Regions from separate parts of the Homo sapiens genome. Here regions 1 and 3 are each linked to region 2. The links are contacts of gene promoters, found by promoter capture Hi-C in blood cells and fetal thymus (Javierre and others, 2016). All regions are on one chromosome and are shown on one strand. Each heading gives the region's core, a stretch centred on a gene start or on the middle of the fragment in contact. The rest is flanking DNA. Distances are from core to core; before and after follow the strand shown. Region 1 has its middle 11 kb from the start of SLC6A3. Region 2 holds the start of SLC6A19 (solute carrier family 6 member 19). Region 3 overlaps SLC6A3 (solute carrier family 6 member 3).

Region 1 (2,872 bases), core at 11-2,510, 250 kb after region 2:
TAAACTTTCTTAAGCTTCTGTTTGCATGTTATAAATATATTTCCTATTCTTTTACTTTCTTACCTTTTTGTTTTGTTTTTTTATGAGACAGAGTCTTGCTGTGTCACCCAGGCTGGAGTGCAGTGGCGCAATCTCAGCTCACTGCAACCTCTGCCTCCAGGGTTCACGTGATTCTCCTGCCTTAGCCTCCCAAGTAGCTGGGACTACAGGCATGTGCCACCACGCCCAGCTAATTTTTTTGCATTTTTACTAGAGATGGGGTTTCACCATGTTGGACAGGCTGGTCTTGACCTCCTGACCTCAAATGATCTACCTGCCTCGGCCTCCCAAAGTGCTGGGATTATAGGCAGGAGCCACTGTGCCCAGTCTATTCTTCTACTTTCAATCTATATTTAAACAGCATATAGTTAGGTATTTTATTTTTTATTTAGTCCAACAAATGTCATTTAGGAGTTTTTAGTCTATGTTTAATGTAACTACTAATATGATTGGATTTAAATTTACCGTTTTGCTATTTGTTATCTATCTCTATTCTCTGTCCTTTGTTCTTTCCCTCCCACCTTCCTTCTTAGTTTGGGTAAAATTTACATTTATATTAGTTATACTTCTTTGGTTCTGTTTTCTATGGGAGGGGGTCTTACTATGTGTATTTTTTTTTTAGATGAAGTTTTGCTCGGTCACCTCAGGCTGGAATGCAATGGCACCATATCAGCTCACTGCAACCTCCACCTCCAGGGTTCAAGAGATTCTCCCACGTCAGCCTCTCAAGTAGCTGGGATTACAGGTACCCACCATCATGCCCAGCTAATTTTCATACTTTTAGTAGAGATGGGGTTTTACCATGTTGGCCACAAGGTCTCCTGACCTCAGATGATCCACCCACTTCAGGCTCCCAAAGTGCTGGGATTACAGGCGTGAGCCACCATGCCTGGCCACTATGTGTATTTTTAACTTACCACAATCTACCTTCAAATGCCAAATTTCTGCATGGTATTCTCTTATTTCTGCCTGTAGAACTCTGAACATTGTTGGTCATTATGAACTACTGGCAGTGAATTATCTCAGCTTTTGCTGATTTCAAAATGTTTCTATTATGCCTTGATTTTTAAAAGATGTTTATTTTAGCATAGAATTCCAGGGTGGCCGCATTCGTCTTTAGTCTCTTTGAAGATGTCATCAGTCATCTGGATTGCATAGTTTCTGCAGAGAAGTCGGCTGTCGTTCTTATCTCTGTTCCTTGACGTCTGGGTTGCATAGTTTCTGCAGAGAAGTCGGCTGTCGTTCTTATCTCTGTTCCTTGACGTCTGGGTTGCATAGTTTCTGCAGAGAAGTCGGCTGTCGTTCTTATCTCTGTTCCTTGACGTCTGGGTTGCATAGTTTCTGCAGAGAAGTCGGCTGTCGTTCTTATCTCTGTTCCTTGACGTCTGGGTTGCATAGTTTCTGCAGAGAAGTCGGCTGTCGTTCTTATCTCTGTTCCTTGACGTCTGGGTTGCATAGTTTCTGCAGAGAAGTCGGCTGTCGTTCTTATCTCTGTTCCTTGACGTCTGGGTTGCATAGTTTCTGAAGAGAAGTTGGCTTTCATTCTTATCTCTGTTCCTTGATAGTATGTTGTTTTTCTCCAGCTGCTTTTAAGATTTTTCTCCTTTTCAGTGGCTTTCAGCAGTTTGTGATGTGTGTCTTGCTGTGTTTTTATTGTATTTTTTCTGCTGGGTGCTTATTGAGCTTCTTGGGTATCTTAGTTTATAGATTTGGAAAAAAATTCTGGCCATTATTTCATCAAATAATTTTTCTGTCCTGTCCTCCTCCTTTTCTAGGGCTCCAATCACATGTGATGGGCCTTGTGGCATTATTCCATGCCCACTTGTGCTTCATTTCTGTCTGTTTCTCCCTGTACATCACTGGGATCACACATAGCTGTATTTTCAGGTTCACTAATATTTTCTCTTGTCGGGTCTAATTTACTATAGTCTCTGCCAGGGTATGACACAGGCAGTGGATGTCAGCCTGTCTCTTTCCCAGCCAACCCAGTGTTTACCTAGTAGAACCATTCACAAACTGGCACTGGAAATAGGGATGGAGATGAGTGTGGATCAATAACAAAGAGCTGACCCATCAACAATAGCCTAGGCTGATGCAGTTATCACTGGACTCCCAACATGTCGGAAGCAGGGTCCCATACTTAGCCCCAGGTACCATTCCTGGGAAAGGGACTAGCCAGCCCCCTGGAGGCAGGTTGATCACACTGGACTCTTCCATCATTGAGGGGAGTATCTCTTGGTTTCAGTTTCCCTTATTCCAGATATGGATATGTCTTTGCTGTCAGTGTTTCTGACAGCACCATCTGTGGGCTTGATGAATGGCTTATTCACTATTGCCCACCTCCTATGGCATTGTTAAGGAATTTACTTTACAGCAAAGGCAGCATGGGAACAGGTACACACTTGGAATCCCTACGTTTCCCATCACCCAGAGGTGGCGAGTCTGATTAAGCATGAGGATGACTTCTTGAAGCTTTAGGTGTGCTGCCCATGGGGAGGCAGTGCCCTAGAACATTGGACTGCCATCCTGATGGATGACATAGTGCCTCGAACTGTGGACCAAGACATGGCACCATTTCATAGCCAGAATAATGTCTGTAATGTCAATGGGTGGAATTAGGACTGGCCCTGCTCACCACCACATCCAACACTTACTGCAGGGTGGCTGGTGCTGCTGTTCAGAAGATCCTTCACCTCCTTTGAGGGGCTCCCTTGCAGGACTGTACGTCTCTGGCTGTTGAATTCAGCTGTGACCACATGGCTTACTGTGGCCAATGAACCAGGAGTGGGCCTGCTGTATTCTGCGTCTGTGCAGCAGATATAGCATCTAGGCA
Region 2 (2,719 bases), core at 37-2,536:
GGAGGAAGGCCTGGGGAGGCGCAGGGTGTGGCACCGTCCCTGGCCTCAGGAAGGCTGGTCCGGGATTCCAGAGCTTGAGGTCTCCTAGATGGGAGAGACGTGAGGGGAGGCCCAAGTGGGGGCCCAAACGGGCAGCGCCCGACAGAGGATGGCCTCCAACTCCCTGTGCGGAAAACCAGGAGAGAATCCCACTCTGGCTTTGGAGACACAACCCCCAGGATCCTCTCCTGAACTCCCCGCAACGTTCCTCCTGCCCCTCCTGGACCCCGTGGTCAGCCCTGTGGCTTCCCTGCACGGCCTCTTTGCTGGGGAGCAGGAACACCATCTCCTTCGCTGTCCCATGCCCGGCACAGGACTGCCCCCCACAAAGTGCTCCACAGAAGGACAGAAACCGTGCAGTCACCGGGAAGGTGGGGATCTGGGGTGGCTGCAGGTTCCATGACACAGGACCCTCCATCCCCCGTGACCCCAGAGGGCCCTTGGGGACGAGGCTGCCCTAGAGGGTGGCTCTGGGTCCTGAACCTATGGCCGGGAGCTGAACTCCTCCTGCTCGATGTTCTCCAGCTCAGCCAGGGATGGGATCCGGGCATCCAGGCTGGGGTTGGGCAGCGTGAGCTGTTCATTATGAAGTTCATTACGAACCCCAGAATGAAACTGTGGCCCAGGGGGCACAGCCACGGGAACCCCACTCTCAGGTTGATTCAGGCCACATCCCAAGGAGCCGTGGTTCCGTGGGGACTGGTGGGAAGCCGGGCCCCCGAGCAGCCGTCTAGAGCCCAGAGCCAGGCTGGAGGGGTCCAGGGCCTCGCTGTGCTTGGTGTGAGCAGACCAAGAGCTGCCCCAGGGCCCCTGCTCCCGCTGAGTTCCCTCTCCCTGGACTGGGGTGGGGGCCGGGGATGCCTGTGCTCCAGGGAGCTGTGGAGAGGCCCACCCGGCGTCCTGCAGGTGGGGGTGTGCGGCAGCCAGGGGCTCCCAGACCGGGGCAGAGCCAGCATCCTGTTTGCCTTGGTTCTTTCTCCCCGGGGTGCACCGGCGTTTGTACGCATTTGTGTGTGCGTTTGTGCAGGGGGAGGGGTGGCCAGCGCCCACGGAGCAGCCTCCGGTTGCCCGAAGGCAGTGGGTGGCTCTGCTGGCCCCGGGGCCGGGCGTCTCTGCAGATAAGGCATTAACAGTCCCTCCGCAGACGCACCCTGCAGATCTGCTGACGACTGGCTCCGTTCTGCCCAGGTGCCTGGGGCGAGGTGCCAAAGGTTCTCTATAAAGTGCCCGGCTCCCGGCCCACGGCCACTCGCCCTCCAGCTTCTGCCCTGCCTGCTGTGTGCGGAGCCGTCCAGCGACCACCATGGTGAGGCTCGTGCTGCCCAACCCCGGCCTAGACGCCCGGATCCCGTCCCTGGCTGAGCTGGAGACCATCGAGCAGGAGGAGGCCAGCTCCCGGCCGAAGTGGGACAACAAGGCGCAGTACATGCTCACCTGCCTGGGCTTCTGCGTGGGCCTCGGCAACGTGTGGCGCTTCCCCTACCTGTGTCAGAGCCACGGAGGAGGTAGGCTGGCCGGGCGGGGCTGCGGGCGAGGCCGTGGCCAGGGAAGCACAGACACACGCAGAGGCCCTGGGCAGACATCCTCCCCGGACCCTCGGCTCCCCAAGCACGGAGGGGAGAGGAGAAGCCGCAGGGTGTGGGGGGAGCTGGGGCCCCCACGGGCCCCCGTGCCCGGTTCCTAGGCTGCTGGTGAGGAGATGGGCCTGGCCGGCACGACCCCAAGACTTCGTGTGGGGCTCCAGGGAGGGCCCTGTGTTCCAGACTGGCAGTCCTGGAACGTTCTGGCCTGAGGGTGGGGCCGGGGGAAGGGTGTTTCTCCCGGTACAGCCCCTCCTCGGAGGACGCGGGGCTGGGCCCTCCTGGGCATCACCTCTCGTCCCAGCCCCACAGGCGGACACCTGCCAGTGCAGGGAGCAGAGGAGGTAGCTGGGTTGGGGGCAGGTGACCCTAGAGGAGCAGAGTGGGTAGCCGGAGCCTGTGGACTCGGGCCTGGCTCTTGAGCCAGGTGCCCTCAGGCCTGGAGGCCGGGAGCCGCTGTGCCCACCCAACACACAAGCCTGACTGCTCCTCGTTCCTCTGGCTCCTGCGGCCCAGGTAGGCATGGCCGCTGCTGGCACAGAGGTGACATTTGTGTTCCTGCCCAGTGGTCCTGAGCATCTGAGAAGTGGCTCCCAGGCCTGGCAGGGGGCTGTACCTAGGACCCCCACACTTGAACTCAGCCTTGGGCTTGGCGAACCCCAAAGCTGCTGCCCTCATAAACCTGCTGCTTTCTCAGCGGAAGGTCCAGGAGGGCCGGGCACCCTTGGGAAACAGGCTTCCTGCTGCCCTGGGGCAGTTCACGGGGGGGCCGTGAAGGTCTCAGCCTCCGTTTAGAGGAGTCTGCCCTCAGGGGGCCCTGTTCCTTCTCACCATGGAGAGCTGCTGTCTCTCACGCGGGCTTTGTGATGTGAAGGTTTTTAAAGAAAAACAGAAATGGGCTTTTCCTGAATCAGTTTCGCCTCCAGCATTGTCAAGGAGTTGATCACTGCCTTGCGGGGGTGGGCGCTTCATGAGCCTCTGGTCCAGCCTGCACTTTCCACTGGAGGCAGGTCGGGGGACCTTGGCCACTCCGATACTATAGTCCCTGACAGTCCCCAAGTCTCAGCTCACCAAAGCCTCAGGGGACTTCCTGGCCACTG
Region 3 (2,700 bases), core at 125-2,624, 220 kb after region 2:
CCAGGAAGGGTGCAGCCCTTTCTCCTCCCTTTCTGGACAAGGGTCCCATCCCCCATGGCCCAGCTGAGTCTCCTCTCTCCGGGAGGCTTTCTCCAAATATTTTAACCCTGAATTATGTCTTCTTTTGCTGACCAAAGCTGCAGCCTGAGTCTAGATGGAGTTTCTGATGTAATTTGATTTAGATGACTCGTGCTGTATCACAGGTACTTGGGATTTGGCTTCCCGAGGAAAGAACCCTGGTGTCTGCAACTCTGACACCTCTCAGCCCTGGCAGGCAATGCATATGGAAACCTGGGAATGCCAGAGCCCCTGTGGACTGTGAAGCAGTGAGCAGACTGTACTCACAGACGCCTCGCAGAGCCGGTAGAAGTCAACGCTCAGGTATGCTCTGATGCCGTCTATGGCTCCAGGGAGGGTGACCCCACGCAGGAGCAGGGCAGTGAGGACCACGTATGGCATGGTGGCTGTGATCCATACCACCTGCAGGAGAGGACAGTGTCACCAGGCTGCACAGGCAGGGCCCTTGGTGGGAGCAGACACTGGCACAAGGGCACCGGGTTGCCCTGACGGCTTGTCCTCTGATTGGGAGGCCCAATTCCCAAACATTTCCTGGGACGCCAGCTCAGCAAATGCTCCTTGGAGTGAGAAGGTCAGACACTTTCTGTCCTGCACACCCTCCCCAGGGATGGAAAGGGAAGAACAACTTGGCAGGGAAAGCACATTCCTTTTCTGCATTCGGTCCGCCAGAGTAGCTGGGAGTGGCTGATGGGGGTTTTCTGATGCGTGGGACGTGAGTGGATTCACACTGGTGAACGGCACTGTGGCACGATGAAGGGCTGCTCTGGGCTGTGTCCCTGCGGGAGGCTCCCGTGGCTGGTGCCATACTACACGCACTTTTCCAAGGGAGGAGTCGTATCTTGGTCAAAACTGGTTTTGGCCCATATAACAACCAAAGTTTTTTTTTTTTTTTTGAGATGGAGTTTTGCTCTTTTTGCCCAGGCTGGAGTGCAGTGGCATGATCTTGGCTCACTGCAACCTCCGCCTCCTGGGTTCAAGCAATTCTCCTGCCTCAGCCTCCCACGTAGCTGGGATTATAGGCACGTGCCACCGTGCCTGGCTAATTTCGTATTTTTAGTAGAGATGGGGTTTCATCATGTTGGCCAGGCTGTTCTTGAACCCCTGACCTCAGGTGATCTGCCCGTCTCAGCCTCCCAAAGTATTTTTATCAACAAAAAAATCATCTTGTGTGTGCCTTCCTGCCAGAAACACTGCTGTGAGTGCTTCCCTCCTGAGGCCCTTCCCCAAACACAGCCACACGTGGACCCAAAACCCAACTGTGCCGTGTGTCCGCCCAGCCCAGCCACGGCCACGTGTCCCCCCACCCACCCATGGCCGCGCGTCTACCCAAGCCAACCCGGCACAGCCACAGGTGTACCCTCAATCATGGCCACGTGTACACTCCCAACCTGATTATGGCCATATGAGTCTCCCAAACTCAACCATGGCCATGTGTCCACCCCAACCTGGCCATGGCCACATTGGTAGCACAAAACCCAACTGAGGCCACACGTGCACCTCCTGTCCAGCCACGGCCACATGTCCACTTGGTGGCCCCATGTCTACAGGCCCAATTGGTGACCCCCGAGCCTCACCTTCCCTGAGGTCTTCACGCCCTTCCAGAGGCTGAAGTAGAGCAGCACGATGACCAGCACCAGGCAGGCTGTGAGCTGCCACCGCGGAGGCCCCAGGTCGTCGATGCCATGGCTCTGGTGGAGGTGCAGCACGCCACGTCTGCAGAGGGGAGTCAGCGGGGGACTCTGTGGGTGGCTGTCAACCCACCTGGAACTGGACGGCTGAGCTTGTCCGGGGACCTGCCCTCCCCATCTCAGCAGGGCAGAAAGCATCCAGTCTGATGGACAAGAGATGCCTTCCAGGGAGGTCTGGCCCACAGGCCCTGGCAGAGGTGTCAGGGCCGCCCTTGAAACCCGTGGAGCACGTGGGAGGCCCAGGAAGCCCTGCCTCACCATCTGCCCTTGGCACCCCTGCTCACTGGAGCTGCGGAGGCGGAGGGCACCTTGGGTCTTTGAAGAAAAGGAGCCACAGAAACCAAAAGGAAGTTGCTGAGCAATGCTGGGTGCCCACCACTGCCCAGTGCTGCCCAAGGTGCTGGGTGCCCACCGCTGCCCACGGTGCTGCCCACGCTGCTGGGTACCCACCGCTGCCCACAGTGCTGCCCACGCTGCTGGGTGCCCACCGCTGCCCACAGTGCTGCCCACGCTGCTGGGTGCCCACCGCTGCCCACAGTGCTGCCCACGCTGCTGGGTGCCCACCGCTGCCCACAGTGCTGCCCACGCTGCTGGGTACCCACCGCTGCCCAGTGCTGCCCATGGTGCTGGGTGCCCACCGCTGCCCAGTGCTGCCCATGGTGCTGGGTACCCACCGCTGCCCAGTGCTGCCCATGGTGCTGGGTGCCCACCACTGCCCACAGTGCTGCCCACGGTGCTGGGTGCCCACCGCTGCCCAGTGCTGCCCAAGGTGCTGGGTGCCCACCGCTGCCCACAGTGCTGCCCACGGTGCTGGGTACCCACCGCTGCCCACAGTGCTGCCCACGCTGCTGGGTGCCCACTGCTGCCCAGTGCTGCCCATGGTGCTGGGTGCCCACCGCTGCCCACAGTGCTGCCCATGGTGCTGGGTACCCAC

Evidence for each region. The method cuts DNA at HindIII sites, captures the fragments that hold promoters and counts their contacts. A CHiCAGO score of 5 or more calls a contact.
Region 1: a contact is called between a fragment that was not itself captured here and the fragment with the promoter of SLC6A19 in region 2, in 2 of 17 cell types (naive CD8 T cells and non-activated CD4 T cells). The highest score is 5.2, in naive CD8 T cells.
Region 3: a fragment that was not itself captured here is called in contact with the fragment with the promoter of SLC6A19 in region 2 in 1 of 17 cell types (non-activated CD4 T cells); the score reaches 5.3 in non-activated CD4 T cells.

What each region holds. Positions count from the first base shown.
Region 1 is chr5:1,455,108-1,457,979 of GRCh38, forward strand. No RefSeq gene overlaps it. Among named protein-coding and RNA genes, the nearest start is that of SLC6A3, 11 kb to the left of the region's middle. RefSeq lists an enhancer at 761-1,960. The HindIII fragment of the contact is 2,497 bases long and covers 13-2,509 here.
Region 2 is chr5:1,200,309-1,203,027 of GRCh38, forward strand. It overlaps SLC6A19 (solute carrier family 6 member 19), which reads left to right and starts at 1,287. Exons shown (of 12, transcript NM_001003841.3): 1 at 1,287-1,544. The coding sequence starts at 1,343. The HindIII fragment of the contact is 15,195 bases long and covers 1-2,719 here.
Region 3 is chr5:1,420,224-1,422,923 of GRCh38, forward strand. It overlaps SLC6A3 (solute carrier family 6 member 3), which reads right to left. Exons shown (of 15, transcript NM_001044.5): 5 at 1,653-1,791; 6 at 346-480. Among named protein-coding and RNA genes, the nearest start is that of SLC6A3, 24 kb to the right of the region's middle. RefSeq lists an enhancer at 2,447-2,700. The HindIII fragment of the contact is 7,423 bases long and covers 1-2,700 here.